3 separate regions of the Homo sapiens genome follow, and all the other regions are linked to region 2. Evidence: promoter capture Hi-C in 16 types of primary human blood cells and fetal thymus (Javierre and others, 2016). All regions are on one chromosome and are shown on one strand. The core of a region is centred on a gene start or on the middle of the fragment in contact, and the rest is flanking DNA. Distances in the headings are between cores, read along the strand shown.

Region 1 (4,272 bases), core at 108-2,607, 360 kb before region 2:
CGGGAAGCAGAGGTTGCAGTGAACAGAGATTGCGCCACTGCACTCCAGCTTGGGTGACAGAGCGGGACTCCACTTCAAAATAAAGAAGGAAAAAGAAAGAAAGAAAAAGAGATAAAGGAAGGGAGGAAAGAGAAAGAAAGAAAGAGAGAGAAAGAGAGAAAGAAAGAGAAAGAAGAAAGAGAAAGAAAGAAGGAAGGAAAGAAAAAGAAAGAAAAAAGAAAGAAAGAAAGGAAAGAAAGAAAAAGAAAGAAAGAAGGAAAGAAAGAAAGTGGGTGGGCAGAAAGGAAGGAGGCAGGGAGGGAGGAGGGAAGGAAGAAGAGAAGGAGGGAGGGAGGGAAGGAGGGAGGGAGGGAAGGAGGGAGGGAGGGAAGGAAGGAAGGAAATCAATTAATTAATAGAGTTACTAAAAAATATTGAATAAATAAATGAAGAAAACTATAGCCAAAAGCTTGAACATTTCGGATCAAGATGGTCAAATAAACTCAAATTACAAAAAAAAAAAAAAAAAAACAAAAATGAGGACAATTAGATGACTTGGAAAGGGTACAGAAAGAGGACAGTTTGTCAGGATGCGGGGGCAACCTGGCAGTGTCTGGAGCTCTGGGAGAGCAGTTGAGGTGGAGTGCAAGATTGAAGATGGAAGTTTGTGCAGTGGTGGAATTGATCAATCCGTCTGACAGCCACTCGTGGGCACCTGTGTGCCACGCCCTGGGCTGAGAGTCAGAGATGTGGGGGTGGCAGTGGTGGCTCATGCCTGTAATCCCAGCAATCTAGGAGGCTGAGACAGGCCAATCGTTTGAGCCCAAGAGTTCGAGACCAGCCTGGGCAACATGGCAAAACCCCATCTCTCTAAAAATACAAACAATTAGCTGGGCATGGTGGTGCACACCTGTAGTCCCAGCTACTTGGAAGGCTGAGGCAGGAGGACGGCTTGAGCCCAGAGATGAAGGCTGCAGTGAGCTGATTGCACCACTGCACTCCAGCCTGGGCAACAGAGTGAGACTCTGTCACACACACACAAGGAAAAAAACACACAAAAATTTCAGTTAGGAGGACTAAGTTCAAGAGATCCAAGTACAACATGGTGGCTATCCTTGATAACAATGTGTTCTAAACTTGCAAAGTACCAAGACAGTGGATTTTAAGCGTTCTCAGCACACTCCCCACAAAAAGACAAATGAGGTAATGCATATGCTAATTAGCTTGATGTAGCTGGTCCACACTTTATACATATTTCAAAACATCATATTGCACACCATAAATAGATACAATTTTTGTCAATTTAAAAAAAGAGGTTAGAGATATGTTGCGGTGCACACAGAGCACTCCCCTCTAGGGAGAGAGGTGTGAATCAAGTCCCCGATGGGCGCGTCTCTGCAGGCCGTGAAGAAAAAGTGTGTGTGTGTGCATGTGTGTATGTGTGCACAAGTGTGGATGTATATGCATGTATATGCGTGTGTGTATGTGTATGTGTATGTATATTGTTTGTGTGTATATATGTGCATGTTTGTGTATGTGAGTATACATCTCTTTGTGTGTAACGTGTGTATGTGCGTGTGTACCTGTGTACATGTGTATATGTGTACATGTATGTGTGTCTGTGTGTATGTGTATTTGTCCGTGTGTACATGTGTCTGTAGTGTTTGTGTGTCTGTGTATGTACGTGTTTGTGTATGTGTATGAGTTTTTGTGTATGTGTACGTATTTGTGTGTGTCTGTGTACGTGTCTATAGTGTTTGTGTATGTATGTGTTTGTGTATGTATATGTGTATGCATGTGTGTACGTGTGTACATGTATGTGTGTACGTGTGTGCATGTTTATATGTGTCTCTGTGTGCGTGTATATATATATGATGTGTACATGTATGTGTGTCTCTGTGTATGTGTGTATGTATCTGTGTGTGTGTGCCCATGCATGTGTGTGGGTCACTTGGAAAGGCCTGGGGGTGTGGGGTTGGAGGCAGGATCTGAGGCCTGAGCTGGGGGTGGGGGACAGGGCCCAGAGTGTGATGAATATGATGGACCCCAGGCTGCGGACCCGGTGCGGGGCTGTGAAGGTGCTCCTGGTGAACTCCAGGCTTGGGGCTGCTGGGAAACCGAGGCACAGCTGTGCGTGGGGCCAGCTGGAAATTGTGGCAGCGGGAGAGGGTGGCTGGGAGGGGGTCTAGACGGGGCTGGAGCCACCCTGGAGGCAGCAAGTCCTTCCCTTTGCTGGTAGCTCCAGAGAAAGGGCCCACAGCCTTACCCAAGGTTCCAGAGAAGCTTCTAGAAGTGAGCATCCTGGTTATTCGTCCTATACCATGTTCCTTCTGAATTTACACTGGACCCCAACTTCAGTCTCAAAACACTTCCCAGCCTCTCTTGGGGAGTGGGAGCGGGACCAGGGTGACTGCCCAGCTGAGGTTGGCAAGGGGGACGTGATGGGAGGGTTCAGGACTGAGAAAGTAGGCCAGGGTCAGCTCTGTGGAGGGAGCCCAGCCTGCGGGGAGGGGAGGCAGTGCTGTGCGGGAGGAGGGAGGCCAGGACAGTCCTGGCCCGGCACGGTCCCAGAGAGGGAATGAATGTCCACGCCCTGGCCGGCCTCTCTCCCAGGGATGGAAGTGTGGACACACACGGATACTCACAGAGAGGCCTGAACCAAGTCTGGGAGGCAACAGGGACAGGGAGCTCTGGGACTAGGAGCCGGGACACCTGGGTCCCCGTTGTTGCTCCCACGTGCAAAGCTGGCCTGTGTCTCCAGCCTTGCAGCCCTAAAGCCCAGTCTGGACAGAGGGTGGAATGGACAAGCCGCAGTGAGAGGGCCGAGGGTGACACCTGCTGGTAAATGGGAGGCATCACAGGCAAGACTTGGCTGGTGGGTCTCTTGCCGCCCAGGGGTGCGTGGTGTCACCCACCCTCCAGCCTCCCCTCCTGTTCTTCACCCCAGGACCCCACAAAAGGAGAAGGCAAATGTTTCCCGATCAGACCTGGAGGGTTTGATCAATGTCTCCCTCTCAGGCAGAGCAAAGAGAAGTGGGGCAAGAGAAGTCCCAGTTTATTTTTTTGAGACGGGGTCTTGCTCTGTCATCCAGGCTGGAGTGCAGCGGGGCTCACTGCAACCTCCGCCTCCTGGGCTCAAGCCATTCTCCTGCCTCAGCCAACCAAGTAGCTGGGATTACAGGCGCCTGCCGCCACGCCCGGCTAATTTTTGTATTTTTAGTAGAGATGGGTTTTCACCCTGTTAGCCAGGCTGGTCTAGAACTCCTGACCTCAAATGATCTGCCTGCCTTGGCCTCCCAAAGTGCTGGAATTACAGGCATGAGCCACTGTGCCTGGCTAATTTTTGTATGTTTAGTAGAGACAGGGTTTCACCATGTTGGCCAGGCTGGTCTCAAATTCCTGACCTCAGGTGATCTGCCCTCCTCGGCCTCCCAAAGTGCTGGGATTACAGGCGTGAGCCACCGCGCCTGGCCTAGAAGTCCCGGTTTCTGAGCTTCCCTCAACATGAGACAGACACTGTGTTGGAGGGGGAGGGTTGCAGCAGTGGTTGTCGCCATAACCCCATGCCATGGAGATGCCTTCCAAAGGCCAGTACTGTGAACCTTGGGGCGGAAGGGTCATGAGGACACCCCGCCCCCTGCTTCAGACCACACTGGTTCAATCCCCACCCCCAAAACACTGATGCTCCAAGCTTTATTTAATTTTCCCAAAGCTGGACCCAGGGCCACATCCCAGGAGTGACCCAGAGAAGGATGTCCCCCCAACCCCTACCCAAACCATGATTCCCAAGATGTTCAGCTGTGACCCCTGCCTGGGGCTTATGTTACCACTTTATAGATGAGAAAACTGAAGCTGGGGAGGGAAGGGCTCTGCCCAGGGCCACAGGCTGGTTACTGCCCAAGTCAGAGTTGGAACTTGGGTCTCAGCTGCTGCAAGGTGCTGCCTTTTTTTTTTTTTTTTTTCTGAGACAGGGTCTTGCTCTGTTGCCCAGGCTGGAGTGCAGTGGCACAATCATAGCTCACTGCAACCTCGACCTCCCAGGCTCAAGCAATCCTTCTGCCTCAGCCTCCTGAATAGCTGGGACTACAGAGTGTGCCACTGTGCTTGGCCAGTTAAAAAAAAATATATATATATAGGCTGGGCGCGGTGGCTCATGCCTGTAATCCTTGCACTTTGGGAGGCAGAGGCAGGTGGATCACCTGAGGTCAGGAGTTCGAGACCAGCCTGGCCAACATGATGAAACCCCCCCTCTACTAAAAATACGAAAAAATTAGTTGGGCGTGGTGGTGGGCG
Region 2 (4,087 bases), core at 1,126-3,625:
AGCTCCCGTTTGCCACATTTCTTGTTTTTATTTTGTTTTGGGATGAGGTCTTGCTCTGTTGCTCAGGCTGGAGTGCAGCGGCGTGATCTTGGCTCACTGCAACTTCTGCCTCCTGGGTTCAAGTGATTCTCCTGTCTCAGGCTCCCGAGTAGCTGGGATTACAGGCGTGTGTCACCATGCCCAGCTAATTTATATACATACATACATACATATATATATATATATATATATTTTTTTTTTGAGACGGAGTCTCGCTCTGTCGCCCAGGCTGGAGTGCAGTGGCGCGATCTCGGCTCACTGCAAGCTCCGCCTCCCAGGTTCACGCCATTCTTCTGCCTCAGCCTCCTGAGTAGCTGGGACTACAGGCGTCTGCCACCACGCCCAGCTAATTTTTTGTATTTTTAGTAGAGACGGGGTTTCACTGTGTTAGCCAGGATGGTCTTGATCTGACCTCGTGATCTGCCCACCTCAGCCTCCCAAAGTGCTGGGATCACAGGCGTGAGCCACCATGCCTGGCCTCTTTTCTTTTCTTTCTTTCTTTTTTTTTTTTAGATGACAGGGTCTCACTCTGCTGCCCAAGCTGGAATGCAGTGGTACCATCTCAGCTCACTGCAGCCTCTGCCTCCTGGGCTCAAGCGATCCTCTGGCCTCAGCCTCTCAAGTAGCTGGAAATACAGGTGCCCACCACCACGCCCGGCTTATTTTTGTATTTTTGGTAGAGATGAGGTTTCGCCATGTCACCCAGGCTGGTCTCAAACTCCTCACCTCTAGTGATCCGCCCACCTTGGCCTACTAGAGTGCTGGGATTGCAGGCGTGAGCCACCGCACCTGGCCAAGAGGACATCTTGAGCAAAGACGTGCCAGGGGTGGGAACGAAAGTCTCTGTCTCTGTCTCTGTCTCCATCTCTGTCTCGCATACACACACCACACACACTCACTGATTTCAGAACAACTCTCACCTCCAAGGCCCCCAACACCTGGAACTCCAAGCCCTCCGACTCCGAGTCCTCCGAGCCCAGCGGCTCCCACTAGGCCTGTGGAGACAGCTGAGCATTAGACTCCGCTGGTCAGAAAGGTGGGACTGAAGCCTCGGCCTGTGGAGGGCGGAGGTGTCCTCTGGGGACACAGGTGGAGCCTGAGGTCTCCCCTGGCCTTCGATGGCACAGTGGAGCCAGGAGGTGTCTGGGGCAGGGACTCTGAGTCTACAGTGCCTGGTCAGAAGCTCCTCCCACACCCTGGGGGCCTGGGGGCCTGGCGGCAGCTCCCACCTCCACCCAGTGCTCACCAAACTGGGCGGCTTTGGCAGCAGCTTTGGCTGCGGCAGCGGCGGCGGCGGGTCCGGCTCCTGGGAACACAGACCGAGTTCAGGGAGGCACTCTGTACTGGTTAGATTCCCTCCCCACCCTGCCCCTCCTGGGGTTTCAACTCACCCACCACACCGCCTGGGATGCCTACTCCACCGAGAGCCCCGAGCCCTCCAAGGACCCCAGGCACTGCTGCTCCTGCGGGGAGAGGAGGGAAAATGAGTGTTCCATTTCTGAACGATGGGTCTCCCTGCCCCAGGGACACAAGGCAAGCAGACAGGTGGCAGGGGCCATGTGACACTGTGGAGGAGCAGTGGACAGGAAGTCCAGTCCATATTTTGTTTCATTTTGAGATGGGGTTTTGCTCTGTCACCCCGGCTGGAGTGCAGTGGTACAATCATAGTTCACTGCAGCCTCCAACTCCTGGGCTCATGCGATCCTCCTGCCTTAGCCTCCCGAAGGTGTGAACCACTGTGCCTGGCCTTAAAAGTTCTTTTGTAAGCCGGGTGCGGTGGCTCACACCTGTAATCCCAGCACTTTGGGAGGCTGAGGCTAGTGGATCACCTGAGGTCAGGAGTTTGAGACCAGCCTGGCCAACACGGTGAAACCCTGTTTCTACGAAAAATACAAAAATTAGCCAGGCGTGGTGGCGGGCGCCTGTAATCCCAGCTACTTGGAAGGCTGAGGCAGGAGAATCACTTGAACCCGGGAGATGGAGGCTGCAGGGAGCCAAGATCGTACCACTGCATTCCAGCCTGGGCGACAGAGCAAGACTCTGTCAAAACAAACAAACAAACAAACAAACAACGGTAATAGTATCTACAGCAGGCACTTAACATTTTGAGTGCTTCACACTTAGCAGCCCATTTTTTATGCATTGCAGCAGGAAAGGTAGGCACTATTGTCATTCCCATTTTGCAGATGAGAACGCTGAGGCAGAGCAGAGGTTAAGCAGTGTGCTCAGGGCTTCAGGGACGGGAAGTGGCTGGGGAGCCTGCGCCCTTCGCGGCTCCACCACATGACGTCACTCTGTTTCCCTGGCAATGTCTGTTGACTCAGGCCTGCCAAGCAGTCAGCAGTGAGCAGGGGAGGAGGCCAGGGCTGCTGGGGGTCGGCGCTGAGGAAGCCAGGATTTTCCGAGGTAGAAACTGGCCCCAAGTGGACCTGCCCGGCTGGTTGGTGGATCCCTGGGGGAGTCTTCCACCTCCCACCAACGCTGCTCACAGGAGGCCAGGAATTCAGGGGCTACAGACAGCGTGGGTCTGGCCAGGCAGGGCTGCCAGAGCGCCAAGTGCAGAGGCTGTGGGACTGCCACGTCCTCTGGGCTGGCTCGTGGTGGGAGCGGTCCTGCTGGCAGGACAGGAAGGCGGGCGGGGGCCCGGGGTGCCCAGATGAGGAATACCAGCTCCTTTGCTCGGGCCAGAGAGCTGGGGTGGAGGCAGAGACTGCCCAGACTCCTCATACCCACAGCAGGCCCAGTCCCTTCCTGGACACAGGGACCATGTAACTGTCAGGGTCAGGGCAAGCTTAGGGATGGTGGAATTGCCTCCTGGGGGGCAACTGGGATTTCAAGGGTGTTTTTGGTGGTCACAGGGGTTGAAGGCACCATAAGCATTTAGTGGGCAGGGGCCAGGTTTTTAAACTGTCATAAACGTGTCCTAGAAACTGCCTTTTTCTTTTTCTTTTCTTTTCTTTTTTTGAGATACAGTCTCGCTCTGTCGTCCAGGCCGGAGTGCAGTGGCGTGATCTCGGCTCACTGCAACCTCCATCTCCTGGGTTCAAGCGATTCTCCTGCCTCAGCCTCCCGAGTAGCTGGGATTACAGGTGCCCGCCACCACACCTGGCTAATTTTTGTGTTTTTAGTAGAGATGGGGTTTCACCATATTGGTCAGGCTGGTCTGGAACCCCCGACCTCAGTTGATCTGCCCACCTCGGCCTCCCAAAGTGCTGGGATTACAGGTGCCCGCCACCACGCCTGGCTAATTTTTGAATTTTTAGTAGAGATGGGGTTTAACCATATTGTTCAGGCTGGTCTGGAACTCCTGACCTCAGGTGATCTGCCTGCCTCGGCCTCCCAAAGTGCTGGGATTACAGGTGTGAGCCACCACGCCCGGCCGAAACTGCCTTTTTCTATTGTGACCACCCCAGTCCTGTGCTGTCAGGGATGGTGTGGTGGCAAGGGAGCCACAAGTGGTTGTGGGGTGCACTCACCATATTTGGCTGCTTTAGCGGCAGCCAGGGCTCCAGGTACTGGGGAGAAAGAAAAGTTGGGGAGTGGTCAGGAGCCGAGCTCTGTGCCTGGGAGTTCTGCCGCCTCCTCTAGAGAGCCCTCCCTGACTTCCTTGGCCTCTATTGCTTCCTCAAAGCCCTGAAGCTGTACAGGCACAGAGCTTTAGGGCTGAACAGTGCCTCCACCTTCCGTCTGCCCCTTCCTTCTCTCCCCAGGCCTAGCATGGACTGCCTGAGGCTGGGCACAGAGTGGGGCTCAGTCACCAGCTGGTGAAGAACTGGAGTTCCTAGTGGTCCCCTGGCCACAGAGCACTGCTGAAGGGGAGCCAGGCTGATCTACCTGCTCCTTCCCTGGTTGGAGGGCAGGCTTTTTCTCAGTCTGGAGCCCTGCCACCCCTCTACTGAGGAGGCAGATACTCTGCAATTGGGCAGCCTGGGGTCCCTTGGCCTGGTCTGCCCTCCTCCCGCTATCTGTTACCCCCAGATGCTTAGGAGAACCTAACAAGGATTTTACTATGCACCCCTGGGTGATGAGGGGGTGCTGGGGAGGTGCT
Region 3 (3,728 bases), core at 28-2,527, 320 kb before region 2:
TGCTTTGGGTTAGTGTGTGCACAGCGTGCTTGGGGCCACCTCCTGGAGGGACTTCATTAAATGCTAGCTTCTTTCTCTCCAACATTTCTTTTTAATAATAAACCCAGAGGCCAAAGAAGAAAAGACCTATTAAAAAAAAAAATCAGCCTGGCACACATCACTATGACAAAAGTCAAAACACAACCAATAGGCTCCCTGCCACTCTTGGCAGGAGTTTCCAGTCTCCTGCCCAGGCTGGCTGTCCTCCGAGCCAGCCAGAGTCTGGCACTGCAGATCAGGGAAGCACAGAGCTGAGTAGGCAGTCACCTCTATCATCCTGCCCCTCATACTTCTGTTCATACATCCCAAGTCCCATTTGAGTCTCAATTAGTTGTAATGAACTAAGCCCCTTGGATCATAATTTATATACGATGCAGTAATGAGGCTCACACTAAATTTTTCTTTTTCTTTTTTTTTGAGAAGGAGTCTCGCCCTGATATCCAGGCTAGAGTGCAATGGCTCAATCTCAGCTCACTGCAACCTCCACCTCCCGGGTTCAAGCGATTCTCCTGCCTCGGCCTCCCGAGCGAGTAGCTGGGATTACAGGTGCCCACCACCACGCCCAGCTAATTTTGGGGTTTTTTTATTATTATTTTTTGAGATGGAGTCTCACTCCGTCGCCCAGGCTGGAGTGCAGTGGCGTGATCTCGGCTCACTGCAACCTCTGCCTCCAGGACTCTGAAGCGATTCTCCTGCCTCAGCCTCCCGAGTAGCTGGGACTACAGGCGCCCGCCACCATGCCCGGCTAATTTTTTGTATTTTTAGTAGAGACGGGTTTTCACCATGTTGGCCAGGCTGGTCTCAAACTCCTGACCTCAGGTGATCCACCTGCCTTGGCATCCCAAAGTGCTGGGATTACAGGTGTGAGCCACAGCACCTGGCCACTAAAATAATTTTTAAAATTCCCATATTTACTACCTGAGACCAAAAGTCCAGTTGTGCTTAGGCCTAAACCTCTGAACATGGGGACATATGCGTTTAGACTAAGCCCCAGTGTATACAGAAAATCAAGAGATGGGCTTTTTTTTTTTTTTCCAGACGGAGTCTCCCTCTGTTGCCCAGGCCGGAGTGCAGTGGCACGATCTTGGCTCACTGCAACCTCCACGTCCCGGGTTCAAGTAATCCTTGTGCCTCAGCCTCCTGAGTAGCTGGGATTACAGGTGTGAGCCACCGCGCCCGGCCAGGAGATGGGCTTTCTGGGGCCACTACTACTTCTTGGTCCAAGGGCACCTGTGAATGAGGGGCAGGGACTGGGGGAGGCATCCTCAGGCCTCTGTCCCCCATGCTCTGTGGAACCACAGCAACCTCAAACCTCCCCGCTCAGGGAATTCAGTTCCTGAGTTGCAGGCTGTTTCTGCCTGCCCTGAACAGCTAATCAGGCCATGTGCACGTAAGCTAATTTGGGTTTCTTCCTTTTCTTTCAGCCCAGGATCCTGGAAGAGCACTTGCTAAAAAACAAAATCCCTTCCTGGGAGAAGGGGCAGGAAGGCCATTACAAGGGACCTCAAGGCATGATGCAAAAAGATTTCCTTTTAGACAAAAAAAGCCCCCTGGATTCATTAGTCCTGAGAACTTACTGCCCACATGCTAAATTCTCGGGTTTTTTTGGTTTGTGTATTTTCTTGAGTCACAGCCTCACACTGTCACTCAGGCTGGAGTGCAGTGGTGCAATCATAGCTCACTGCAGCCTCAAACACCTGGGCTCAAGTGATCCTCTTGCCTCAGCCTCCAGCGTAGCTGGGGACTACAGGTACACTACCACTGTACTCGGCTAATTTTTTATTTTTGTAGAGATGGGGTCTAACTATGTTGTCCAGGCTGGTCTCAAACTCCTGGCCTGAAGCAATCCTCCTGCCTCAGCCTCTCGAAATGCTGGAATTATAGGTGTGAGCCACCACACCCACCCCTAAATTCTGGTTTGAATATACATGAGGGTGGTCAGGTGCAGTACCTACTCCCTGTAATCCCAGCACTTTGGGAGGCAAAGGCGGGCAGACAGCTTGAGCCCAGGAGTTTGAGACCAGCCTGGGCAACATGAGGAAACCCCATCTCTACAAAAACTATAAAAATTAGCCAGGTGTGGTGGGGCACACCTGTGGTCCTGGCGACTTGGAAGGCTGAAGTGGGAGGCTCGCTCAAGCCTGGGAGGTTGAGACTGTAGTGAGCCATGATCATGCCACTGCACTCCAGCCTGGGAGACAGAACAAGACCCTGTCTCAAAAACAAAACCAAAAAAAAGGCCAGGGATGGTGCCTCACGCCTGTAATCCCAGCACTTTGGGAGGCCGAGGCGGGCAGATCACCTGAAGTCAGGAGTTTGAGACCAGCCTGGACTACCTGGCGAAACCCCACCTCTACTAAAAATATAAGAATTAGCTGGGCGTGGTGGTGCATGCCTGTAATTGCAGCTACTTGGGAGGCTGATACAGGAGAATTGCTTGAACCTGGGAGGCGGAGGTTGCAGTGAGCCGAGATCCCACCACTGCACTCCAGCCTGGGCAACAAGAGCAAAACTCCATCTCAAAAAAAAAAAAAATGTATGTGGGGGAACTGGAAACTCAAGAATCTCTGAGTACAATTTGTATACAGGCAAGAGTCCGTTGCTAGCCATCCCTCCTATGAATTAATTCCTGTTGTCTTGGGCACTCTCTGTCAGCCCCACAGGGAATGGGGTTGAACATCTCTGCCACTGAGAGGCTGTGGACCTGGGAAAGTCTTGGTTTGCTCACCTGTGAAATGGAGCCAGTATCAATCTAAGGATGTTAAGGTGAAATGGAGTCACATAGGGCCTGGCATAAGACGTGGTACCCAGAGCCACTCAAAAGGCCCTTCCTGGCCCTGGTGGAGTGGGCACAGCCCACCTGGGTGTTGACCTCCTCAGAGGGGCTGGGAGGATGGGTTCAGCTGAAGGAAGAAGGGGTAGATGCTTAAGGAATTTCTAGATTTGGAGCAAAATTGACATTGGTGACAGCGACCTCTTTAGGGCCACCCCCTCTAGCCTTCCAGACCCCACTCCGGGAACTCCCACATTCTGGGGAAGTACTCGTTGGCACCGTTGCTAAAGTCTCATTAGGACTGGCAGAAAGGGGGCTGCCGCTGATTCCCCAGGTGAGCTTCTAAGTTGGAGATGGGTGCCCCCAGGGGGATAGGCAGAGCTTGCCTTCAGGTCTGTGCCAGCCCCAGGGCACAGGGTCTGAGGTCCCGGGTCCTAGGAGCCCTGCACCCTAAGACATGTATGGGTAAATCAAAGCCCGTCCTCTGCACGGAGGTCCCATCTCTCCAGGTCTGCTCTGTGCGGGGGGATGCAGCCAGGTCAGCTCAGACCAGCTTCGGTTCTCCCTGGTCACCAGGGCGCACTGCCCCTCTAACAGAGGGCCAAGGAGCTCCTCCTCCTCTAAGCCAGGTGACCCCTTCCTTGACTGCCCCAGGCATGCTCTCGGGGACAAGGGAAATGCTTCCTGGGCTGCAGAACAGAGGTCAGCAAAAGGCCAAGCCCTCCCCAGCCCGACCCTCCCGCCCCAGCAGGAGGGGCAGGCGCCTACGTGGGTGTGCTGGGAGGAGCACAGGGCCTCGACCGCCTGGAGTCTGTTCTCAGCCACCAGGAGCTTCTCCCGCAAACTCTCGACCTCCTGTTTGCCCTGGGCTTCTGCCCGCTGCAGCCGCTCGTAGTCCAACATCTTCTTCTCGGCC

Evidence for each region. Contacts are between HindIII fragments. The CHiCAGO score rates a contact against its expected background, and 5 or more counts as called.
Region 1: a fragment that was not itself captured here is called in contact with the fragment with the promoter of ELN-AS1 in region 2 in 2 of 17 cell types (naive B cells and neutrophils); the score reaches 8.3 in naive B cells.
Region 3: a contact is called between a fragment that was not itself captured here and the fragment with the promoter of ELN-AS1 in region 2, in 5 of 17 cell types (neutrophils, total B cells, naive B cells and 2 more). The highest score is 13.7, in neutrophils.

Annotation. Positions count from the first base shown.
Region 1 is chr7:74,416,113-74,420,384 of GRCh38, reverse strand. No RefSeq gene overlaps it. Among named protein-coding and RNA genes, the nearest start is that of GTF2IRD1, 36 kb to the left of the region's middle. RefSeq lists a silencer at 2,760-2,889. The HindIII fragment of the contact is 1,814 bases long and covers 451-2,264 here.
Region 2 is chr7:74,060,568-74,064,654 of GRCh38, reverse strand. ELN-AS1 (ELN antisense RNA 1) reads left to right here and starts at 2,375. Exons shown (of 2, transcript NR_183555.1): 1 at 2,375-2,445. ELN (elastin) reads right to left here. Exons shown (of 33, transcript NM_000501.4): 26 at 3,516-3,554; 27 at 1,431-1,502; 28 at 1,286-1,345; 29 at 960-1,034. RefSeq lists a silencer at 2,207-2,399 and enhancers at 2,202-2,496, 2,040-2,540, 2,541-3,041. The HindIII fragment of the contact is 2,959 bases long and covers 1-2,832 here.
Region 3 is chr7:74,376,675-74,380,402 of GRCh38, reverse strand. CLIP2 (CAP-Gly domain containing linker protein 2) reads right to left here. Exons shown (of 17, transcript NM_003388.5): 10 at 3,581-3,728. Among named protein-coding and RNA genes, the nearest start is that of GTF2IRD1, 75 kb to the left of the region's middle. RefSeq lists an enhancer at 1-103. The HindIII fragment of the contact is 8,624 bases long and covers 1-3,728 here.